Linked DNA regions of Homo sapiens: all the other regions are linked to region 3. Evidence: promoter capture Hi-C in human tissues and cell types (Jung and others, 2019). All regions are on one chromosome and are shown on one strand. The core of a region is centred on a gene start or on the middle of the fragment in contact, and the rest is flanking DNA. Distances in the headings are between cores, read along the strand shown. Region 1 overlaps SRPK1 (SRSF protein kinase 1). Region 2 has its middle 3.2 kb from the start of CLPS. Region 3 holds the start of TULP1 (TUB like protein 1).

Evidence for each region. The method cuts DNA at HindIII sites, captures the fragments that hold promoters and counts their contacts. A contact is called where the count stands out against the background at its distance.
Region 1: a contact is called between a fragment that was not itself captured here and the fragment with the promoter of TULP1 in region 3, in 2 of the 25 tissues and cell types used here (heart left ventricle and lymphoblastoid cells).
Region 2: a contact is called between a fragment that was not itself captured here and the fragment with the promoter of TULP1 in region 3, in 2 of the 25 tissues and cell types used here (aorta and spleen).

What each region holds. Positions count from the first base shown.
Region 1 is chr6:35,883,605-35,886,606 of GRCh38, reverse strand. The region is part of intron 6 of SRPK1 (SRSF protein kinase 1); the gene reads left to right. Among named protein-coding and RNA genes, the nearest start is that of SRPK1, 36 kb to the left of the region's middle. The HindIII fragment of the contact is 5,262 bases long and covers 1-3,002 here.
Region 2 is chr6:35,799,008-35,802,014 of GRCh38, reverse strand. No RefSeq gene overlaps it. Among named protein-coding and RNA genes, the nearest start is that of CLPS, 3.2 kb to the right of the region's middle. The HindIII fragment of the contact is 4,164 bases long and covers 1-3,007 here.
Region 3 is chr6:35,511,441-35,514,160 of GRCh38, reverse strand. It overlaps TULP1 (TUB like protein 1), which reads left to right and starts at 1,265. Exons shown (of 15, transcript NM_003322.6): 1 at 1,265-1,349; 2 at 1,471-1,522; 3 at 1,891-1,981; 4 at 2,355-2,513. The coding sequence starts at 1,303. The HindIII fragment of the contact is 7,738 bases long and covers 1-2,720 here.

The DNA of each region.
Region 1 (3,002 bases), core at 437-2,936, 370 kb before region 3:
CTTTTATTGTACACTTCTGAACACACATCTGAATTTTGTCTAATTTTGTGTGGTGTGATTTTTCAGAATATTGCTTTAAGCTTCTTGTCCTCTTTTCAGGCAAATTAAAGCGAAATCAAAGGAAACTTTTAGAAAATGCGTTGTATCACTAAGTAAAGAGTCTATGATTTTTGTCAGTTAGCACAGAAACTTTAAGGGAAGTAATTTCTTATGAAAAATACTGAGTAGGCCGGGCACGGTGGCTCAAGCCTGTAATCCCAGCACTTTGGGAGGCCGAGGCAGGTGGATCACCTGAGGTCAGGAGTTCAAGACCCACCTGGCGAACATGGTGAAACTCTGTTTCTACCAAAATACAAAAATTAGCTGGGCATGGTGGCAGGCTCCTGTAATCCCAGCTACTGGAGAGGCTGAGGCTGGAGAATCACTTGAACTGGGGAGGCAGAGGTTGCAGTGAGCCGAGATTGAGCCCACTGCACTCCAGCGTGGGGGACAGAGCCAGACTCTGTCTAAAAAAAAAAAAAAAAGATACTGTCTAAAAGAAAGAGAAAAAGAGAGAAAGAAAAAGAAAGGAAGAAAGAAACTGGATGAACAATTTAAGGTATGATTGTATTTATTATACTAAGCCTCAACTTTGAAGAGGCTGTGAATGTAGTTTATGTTTAGAGTCTAAAAGGGTGTAATTGTTCACATTCTATTATAATGAAAAACTGACTTGTTTTATGTTTTTATCTGGATGTTTTAGAACTGTAGAATTGAAAGGAACCATAGCTGATTTTCTTCACAGGTATCAAAGTGACGTGCGGTGAGCTAATGGAAAGGTTATTGCAACAGCTGTGCTTATAAAGGTCAATCAGATTTTTCAGTAAAAGATGAAGTCGAATCTTACTTAGATTGGATAAATCTAAAATCACCTGTTTATAAGCTGTTTTTAAAATGTATAAAGACATTTCATACATTATTTTACTTTTCATGCATGTTTAGCTTCCTTTAATGCACATTCCTAATTGCTGTTGATCTTTTTGTATTTAAAGGAGACAGGACTACATATGACTAGTTTCATGTAGACTATGGGAAGAGATTTGAACAGAGAAGCAGGAAGGAAGGGATGGGAAAGGAGAGAGAACAGCTGATAATGTGGAAAGACTATTGTTCTAAAGTCAATTCTGAGTCATTTCTTAGAAAAATACAAATCACAGATTACCCAGATGTCTAAGGAAAACTGCTGCAACCATCTTAAAACAGTATCTTGTGCTTATTGTGGTCACTTTGTAGATGGCTCTCTCTCTCTCTCTCTCTCTCTCTCTCTCTGTGTGTGTGTGTGTGTGTGTGTGTGTGTGTGTGTGTGTTCAAAGAATTAAGAATTCTAAACCAAGTAATTTTTTAAAAACCTACACAGGGTGTCGTGATGGCCATATCTGTTTTTTCTATTATTTAATCTTGTAATGTTTGTCATTGTGCCAGATTTCTTTACTAATTTGCAAAAGTTCCAAGTAAAACTATAGAAATACTCTCAAATCTCCCCAGTAATGCTGAGTACCTTTATTTGACCCTAACTAAGCAAAGAAGGCTTTTTAACTATTGAAATATCTTAGTAGGTTTGAATTTCAAGTTCCAAGATATTTTTCTTTTTCTTTTTTGGAGTTCAATGGCATAATCTCGGCTCACTGTAACCTCTGCCTCCTGGGTTCAAGTGATTCTCCTGCCTCAGCCTCCCGAGTAGCTGGGATTACAGGTGGATGCCACCACACCCAGCTAATTTTGTATTTTTAGTAGAGATGGGGTTTCACCATGTTGGCCAGGCTGGTCTCAAACCCCTGACCTCAGGTGATCTGCCCGCCTCGGCCTCCCAAAGTGCTGGGATTACAGGTGTGAGCCACCGTGCCCGGCCCCCAAGATATTTTTCAAACATTGCTAGGTGGTTTCTCTGTAGCTTCTGTCCATTGATTCCCTATTTTATTCTTTTCTCCATTTGTTCTTAGCCATTTTTTCCTGTCTTTCTTCATCCTTATCTCCCAGCTGTCTTTGCTCCTGCATTATTTACTACTGTTAGAGATTGAAAGGATATAACTCAAAACACTATGTTAAGGGTTAGTAATGGCTCATGTCACTCTCCTGCCTCTACCCGTTTTCCCAACATAACATACCCACACAGAGCAGTACATCCACATTCGTGTGTATGTTTGTTCAGGCGTTTTTTTCTCTGGACCACTATCGTTTCTCATATTAAAATATAAAGGGCCCTAAACTAGAAAGTTAGTTCTTACAGAATTCCATATAAACTGGCTCACTCTACTTGCCTGGAGGGTGAGGGGAAAAGAATGATTAAGAAGGAGGACAGTTGGTTTCTCTATATAATGTTGACATTAGCCAGTCATTATTGTCTGCTTATATGACCTCCTATGTCTTTAGGATACTTTTTTTTTCATGCTGTATTCTGTCTGTTTTGCTAGCTCCTCTTATTCATAATGTGCCCTAAATGTGCTTACTCAATAACATAAGCCTTTTATTTTCAGCCTTTTGTTATTTTCTTTACACTGTCTCCCCATTAGATTTTTTTAAAAATATAACCTTGTGGGCCGGGTGCAGTGGCTCACACCTGTAATCTCAGCACTTTGGGAGGCCGAGGTGGGCGGATCACGAGGTCAGGAGACCGAGACCATCTTGGCTAACACGGTGAAACCTCATCTCTACTAAAAATACAAAAAAAAGCTGGGCGTGGTGGCAGGCGCCTGTAGTCCCAGCTACTCAGAAGGCTGAGGCAGGAGAATGGCGTGAACCTGGGAGGAGGAGATTGCAGTGAGCCAAGATAGCGCCAACTGCACTCCAGCCTGGGCGACAGAGCAAGACTCCGCCTCAAAAAAAAAAAAAATAACCTTGTGATTTCAATTACTAGTGCTTCTGATTGCTACTCATTAGCTTTCTTTCACTCAAATTATTTGGCTCTTCCTTTTTGCCACTTGATTATGATGTTCTGTCAAGTTTTTTTTTAAGCTACTATATGT
Region 2 (3,007 bases), core at 440-2,939, 290 kb before region 3:
GCCTCCCAAAGTGTTGGGATTACAGGCGTGAGCCACCGCACCTGGCTCAGGTTGTTTTTAATAGTAAAAAAGTGGCTGGGTGCAGTGGCTGGCTCACACCTGTAATCCCAACATTAATAATAATTTTGAAGCTAGCTTATGTATTAAAGATTTTACTTACATTACATAAACTTGAAACAGCATTTGACTAGTCTTTTTTCCTGATAAAGTGTTCAAGTGCTTTTATTTTCTTAAGCCAATTAGAGCTCTTTTATTTATTTTCAGTAGTGAAACACTGTGCACACCACCCATAAATACATAGACATATCAGGCATGCCTATAGAAGTACATCTTACAGATTTATAAAAACCTTTTTTTTTCCTATTTTAATCTTTCAGATTCTTTTTGTTTGTTTTTGAGATGGAGTCTCGCTCTGTCACCTAGGCCGGAGTGCAGTGGTGCAATCTTGGCTCACTGCAACCTCTGCCTCCCAAATTGAAACAATTCTTCTGCTTCAGCCTCCCGAGTAGCTGGGATTACAGGTGCCTGCCACCATCCTCAGTTAATTTTTCTATTTTTAGTAGAGACGGGGTTTCACCAGGTTGGCCAGGAAGGTCTCAAACACCTGACCTCAAGAGTTATCAAATTCTTGATAACCTCTTTCACAACCCTAGGCAGTTGACAGCTAAATAGCCTTAAATTTGCATATTAAAGGAAACAGTTCAGATGAAAGTCAAACAGCAAAATTTACATTATAAGGTGCGCCAAGAAAAGTCTGGTGTTCTAGAGGGAAATTAAAACAGATTTAATTGCCAATTAAACATAAAAGTATGGAAATTATAAAGGCCTTTTAAACACACACACACACACACACACCTTGTAGCTTTTACTTCAGAACTTTTAGCCATGAAATAAATACAAATTCACCTGGCTTGCAAAAAGAACTTGTTGGATCTAAACAGTGGTTTTTCTCTTAATAGAAAAATAACAGCAGATTGCCGGGCGCGGTGGCTCACGCCTGTAATCCCAGCACTGTGGGAGGCCAAAGTGGGCGGATCACGAGGTCAGGAGTTCCAGACCAGACTGGCCAACATGGTGAAACCCCATCTCTACTAAAAATACAAAAAATTAGCTGGGTGTGGTGGCAGGCACCTATAATCCCAGCTACTCAGGAGGCTGAGGCAGGAGAATGACTTGAACCCGGGAGGCAGAAGTTGCAGTGAGATGAGATTGTGCCATTGCACTCCAGGCTGGGCAACAGAGTGAGACTCCATCGAAAGGAAGGGAGGGAGGAAGGAAGGAAGGAAGGAGGGAAGGAAGGAAGGAAGGAAGATTTAGAGCAGGCAGAAAAGAAAAATAGAGAAAAAGATGACTTAGGAATTCTATAGTTTGCAGGTCAACCTTAGGGCTCTTTTTCCTTAATGTAAATGTGCACAAAGACCACGTTATTTCCATTTTACATAAACTTTGTCAGGTAGAGGTGCCATAAAAGCTACGGAGTGCTCAAAAGGGGGTCATTTTCTTTGTTTTCTCCTCATTCTGAAACCACCTTTGCAAAATTATGACTGAGACAGTGAAAGAGATCTAACTTAAGTGACTCCATCTTGTTTCTAACCTCCAAGCTGTCCTTGTTCATTCCTAGGCGTAAGCTGAACTAACTTTGGGAGAAACTTAGTTTATAGTTTAAACAAAGACAGTAACAGCCCTTTCCCAAAGCTGACTTCATTCTTGCCTGGGGACTAGATTGCCTTTGTAGGACTAACATTAGCCACAAGATTAGAAATTATGGTTTAGGAGTCACGCAGCTGGAGGCTACAAGATCCTGATCCTCCCTAAACTACTCCTAAGATCAGTGCTTGAGATATTTTGCTGACCCTGCACTTGATGGATCAGCTGGCCCCACCCAGATCAATAAACTGGCTCATCTGATCTTGTGGCCCTCACCCAGTAATTGACTGGGTGCACGAAGACAGCTCTGAGTCCCTATGATTTCATCTCTGACCAATCATCACCCCTGGCTCACTGGCTTCCCCCCACCCACCAAGTTATCTTCAAAAACTCTGCTCCCTGCTGGGCATGGTAGCTCATGCCTGTAATCCCAGCACTTTGGGAGACTGAGGCAGGTGGATCACTTGAGGTCAGGAGTTCAAGACCAGCCTGACCAACATGGTGAAACCCCATATCTACTAAAAATACAAAATTAGCCGAGCATGGTGGCACATGCCTGTAATCCCAGCTACTCGAGAGGCCGAGGCAGGAGAATCACTTGAACCCAGGAGGCGGAGGTTGCAGTGAGCCAAGATCATGCCATTGCACTCCAACCTGGGCAACAAGAGCGAAACTCTGTCTCAACAGCAACAACAACTCTAAAACTCTAGTCTCCTGCACCTGCACAGCCGGCTCTGCATGAAATACTCTTTCTCCACTGCAATTCCCCTGTCTTGATGAATCGGCTCTATCTAGGTAGTGGGCAAGGTGAACCCCTTCAGTGGTTACATCCTGAGGGCTGTGTCACAGGCCATGGTTGCTCATATTTGGCTCAGAATAAATCTATTCAAATATTGTACAGAGTTTGACTCTTTTCATTGACAGGTACTTAATTTTTGCTTTCCTTTTAGAAGCACATACAGTGTCAAAGTTCTCTTTGCTACACTTCATTTGTAATGGAAAAAACTCCAGCCTTTTTTCTTTGCAAGCTTGGCTGAGACCAACTAGGGACAGGGCTGATGGTTTTCACAGCTCCCTTCATGGAGAGAAATCACTCCTCTGATTCCTTTGCCAGTCTCCATCTTGACTTGTGAGAAGGGAATAGTGATTCCCTTCTCTGTGGCTCACCTCACAGAGGTCCTGGGGGTGGGGAGCAGGTAGAGAAAAGAGAAGGAAGGATCAGAGTGAACTCATAGGAAAAAGTGCTTTCAAACATTGAGTTCTATAAAAGAGAGGGGGGATAGTGTTCTTTCATCAATGGTATTTCTGCATCGCTGGAACCAAATTGGTTTTTCTCATTTTGAGAGTCTCCTGGTTGTTC
Region 3 (2,720 bases), core at 16-2,515:
ACCCTGTGGTTAGAAAGGCAGACTGGGGCCAGATCAGGGAGAGCCTTGAATGTCAACCCAACACATTTAAACTTAATCCTTAGGCAGTAGGGAGCCAATGAATGTTTTTGAACAAAGGTGGCAACCGAAGAAATAGTATTTTAGAAAGTTCCATTTGATATGGATTTACTGTAATTAGCCAGGATCGTGCCACTGCACTCCAGCCTGGGTGACAAGAGCAAAATTCTGTCTAAAACAAAACAAAACAATACCACAAAAGCATGTCCCCTATCAGTGAAAAAAGAAAAAGAGTTAAGGGTATACCTCCAATACAGACATATTCTTTTTTTTTTTTTTTTTTCTGAGATGTAGTCTTGCTCTTTTTGGCCAGGCTGGAGTGCATTGGCAAGATCTCGGCTCACTGCAACCTCCGCCTCCCAGGTTCAAGTGCTTCTCCTGCCTCAGCCTCCCCAGTAGCTGGGACTACAGGTGCCCACCACGATGCCCAGCTAATTTTTTATTTATTTATTTATTTATTTTGAGACGGAGTCTCACTCTGTTGCCCAGGCAGGAGTGCAGTGGCATGATTTCCGCTCACTGCAAGCTCCGCCTCCCAGGTACACGCCATTCTCCTGCCTCAGCCTCCTGAGTAGCTGGGACTACAGGTGCCTGCCGCCATGCCCGGCTAATTTTTGCATTTTTAGTAGAGATGAGGTTTCACCATGTTAGCCAGGATAGTCTCGATCTCCTGACCTTGTGATCCGTCTGCCTCGGCCTCCCAAAGTGCTGGGATTACAGGGGTGAGCCACCGCACCCGGCTAATTTTTGAATTTTTAGTAGAGACTGGGTTTCACTGTGCCGGCCAGGCTGGCCTCGAACTCCTGACCTCAAATGATCCACCTGTCTCAGCCTCCCAAAGTGCTGGGATTACAGGTGTAAACCACCGCACCTGGCTCTAGTTCTTATTTTTTGTGAGAAATAAAGATAAATACAGGATCCAGTCTAATGTTTTCTTCCACATCCCATTGACAAATGACTAATCGGCCCCTCTCACCCCAAGCTTCTGGGGGCTTCTCGGGGCAGGTGGAGCTGGTGGCCATCCTGCAGGCTGCTGGGGATCTGAGAAGAACTGGAGTTGAGATTCTTCCCCCAGTGGCCTGGGCCTAGCAGGGGAGGGTCGTGGGCTGTAGCACCTCCCACAGCGCGGCCAGGCCTCCACTCCTTGAGCAGGGGGAAGGGGGGTGAAGTTGAGCCGAGATTAGCAGGAGTCGGGAGGGAGGCTCCTAGACCTGCAGAGAAAGGGGTGCGATAGGCAAAGGCACCATGCCTCTGCGGGATGAAACCCTCCGAGAGGTGTGGGCCTCTGACAGGTCTGGAAGGCCCCCAGTTCGTGGCACCTGAACCCTGGGGGGCCTAGATGGAGGGATGGGGAGTGGGTGGGATGGGGAGGGAAGGGGAAGGGAGACAGGCTGATCCCTTTGCTACCCTCAGTGGGCATGAAGAAGAAAGCCTGAGCCCGGAGGCCCCGCGGCGCCCCAAACAGGTATGCCACCCCACTTGGAAAGGAAGCAGAAAGATGTCCCCGCTGTGCGTAAACCCACGCAGGGTAGGGGGTCTAGGGGTGGGACAGGTCCCCCTTAGCAGGGTCTGGGGGTTGCATGTCTGGAGATCTGGGGGGAGAAAGGGCTGTTTGGGGACTTGGGGTTTCCAGGGAAGGAATAGGGACTTTGGAGCATTGGATATGGCCACGATGCATGGAAGGGGTCATCCTGCCTCACTCCAAGAAGGGGGCTGCAGTTCCCCCCGGATAATCTGCGGTTATTTCTGGCGGCTCAAGGGATTAGAGGGGGATGGGCGGGCCTCAGCGCCCCCCTTTCCTTCCTCGACCTCCTCTTGACCCCCGTTCCGCAGCGACCCGCCCCGGCACAGAGGCTAAGGAAGAAGAGGACGGAGGCCCCCGAATCCCCCTGCCCCACGGGATCCAAGCCCCGGAAGCCCGGAGGTGGGCGGGGTGCAGAGCCCGGGTGGACCCCCAGGGTGTGGGCTGCGGAAGGGAGGGGCTTGAGGGCCGGCGCGGGTGTCGCCGAGCCCTGGAACGGGGTGGGGGAGGAGGGGGCGGGGAGTGATGAGAGGGGAGGGATTGGGGTTGGGGTTGGGGTTGGGGTTGGTGTAGAAGGGGGTGGCGTTGGGGTAGAAGGGGGTGGGAAGCTGAATGGAAGCCGGGGAGAAGTGTTGAAAGTGGAAACCCAAGCCCAGGGGAGATCCCTAGGGTGAGGAGCCCGAGGGGGTGCGCCCAGGCTTGGGGGTAGCGGGTAGAGGCGCTGCCTCGCGGACCCGCGGATGGGACCCTGTCTGAACCCCGCATCTCGGCTCAGCTGGGCGGACGGGGAGGCCGCGGGAGGAGCCTTCCCCAGACCCAGCCCAGGCCCGGGCGCCGCAGACGGTCTACGCCAGGTTCCTCAGGGACCCCGAGGCCAAGAAGCGCGACCCCCGGGAAACCTTTCTGGTAGCCCGTGCCCCAGACGCGGAGGACGGTGAGAGAGGGCCCCAGGGACGCGGGTGAGGGGGCGGTGGAGCTAAGGAGAGAAGGGGCTGGCTGGACGGGAACGGCCCAGAGAGGCAGAAAACAACTGTAGTCAAATAGCCCCCACTTTTCTGGCCTTATCTTTGAGCCAGGTATTGTGCTAAGCACCAACTATGAGAGGGTGCTTTGTTCCCCCCCTCCACCATTGTACAGATGG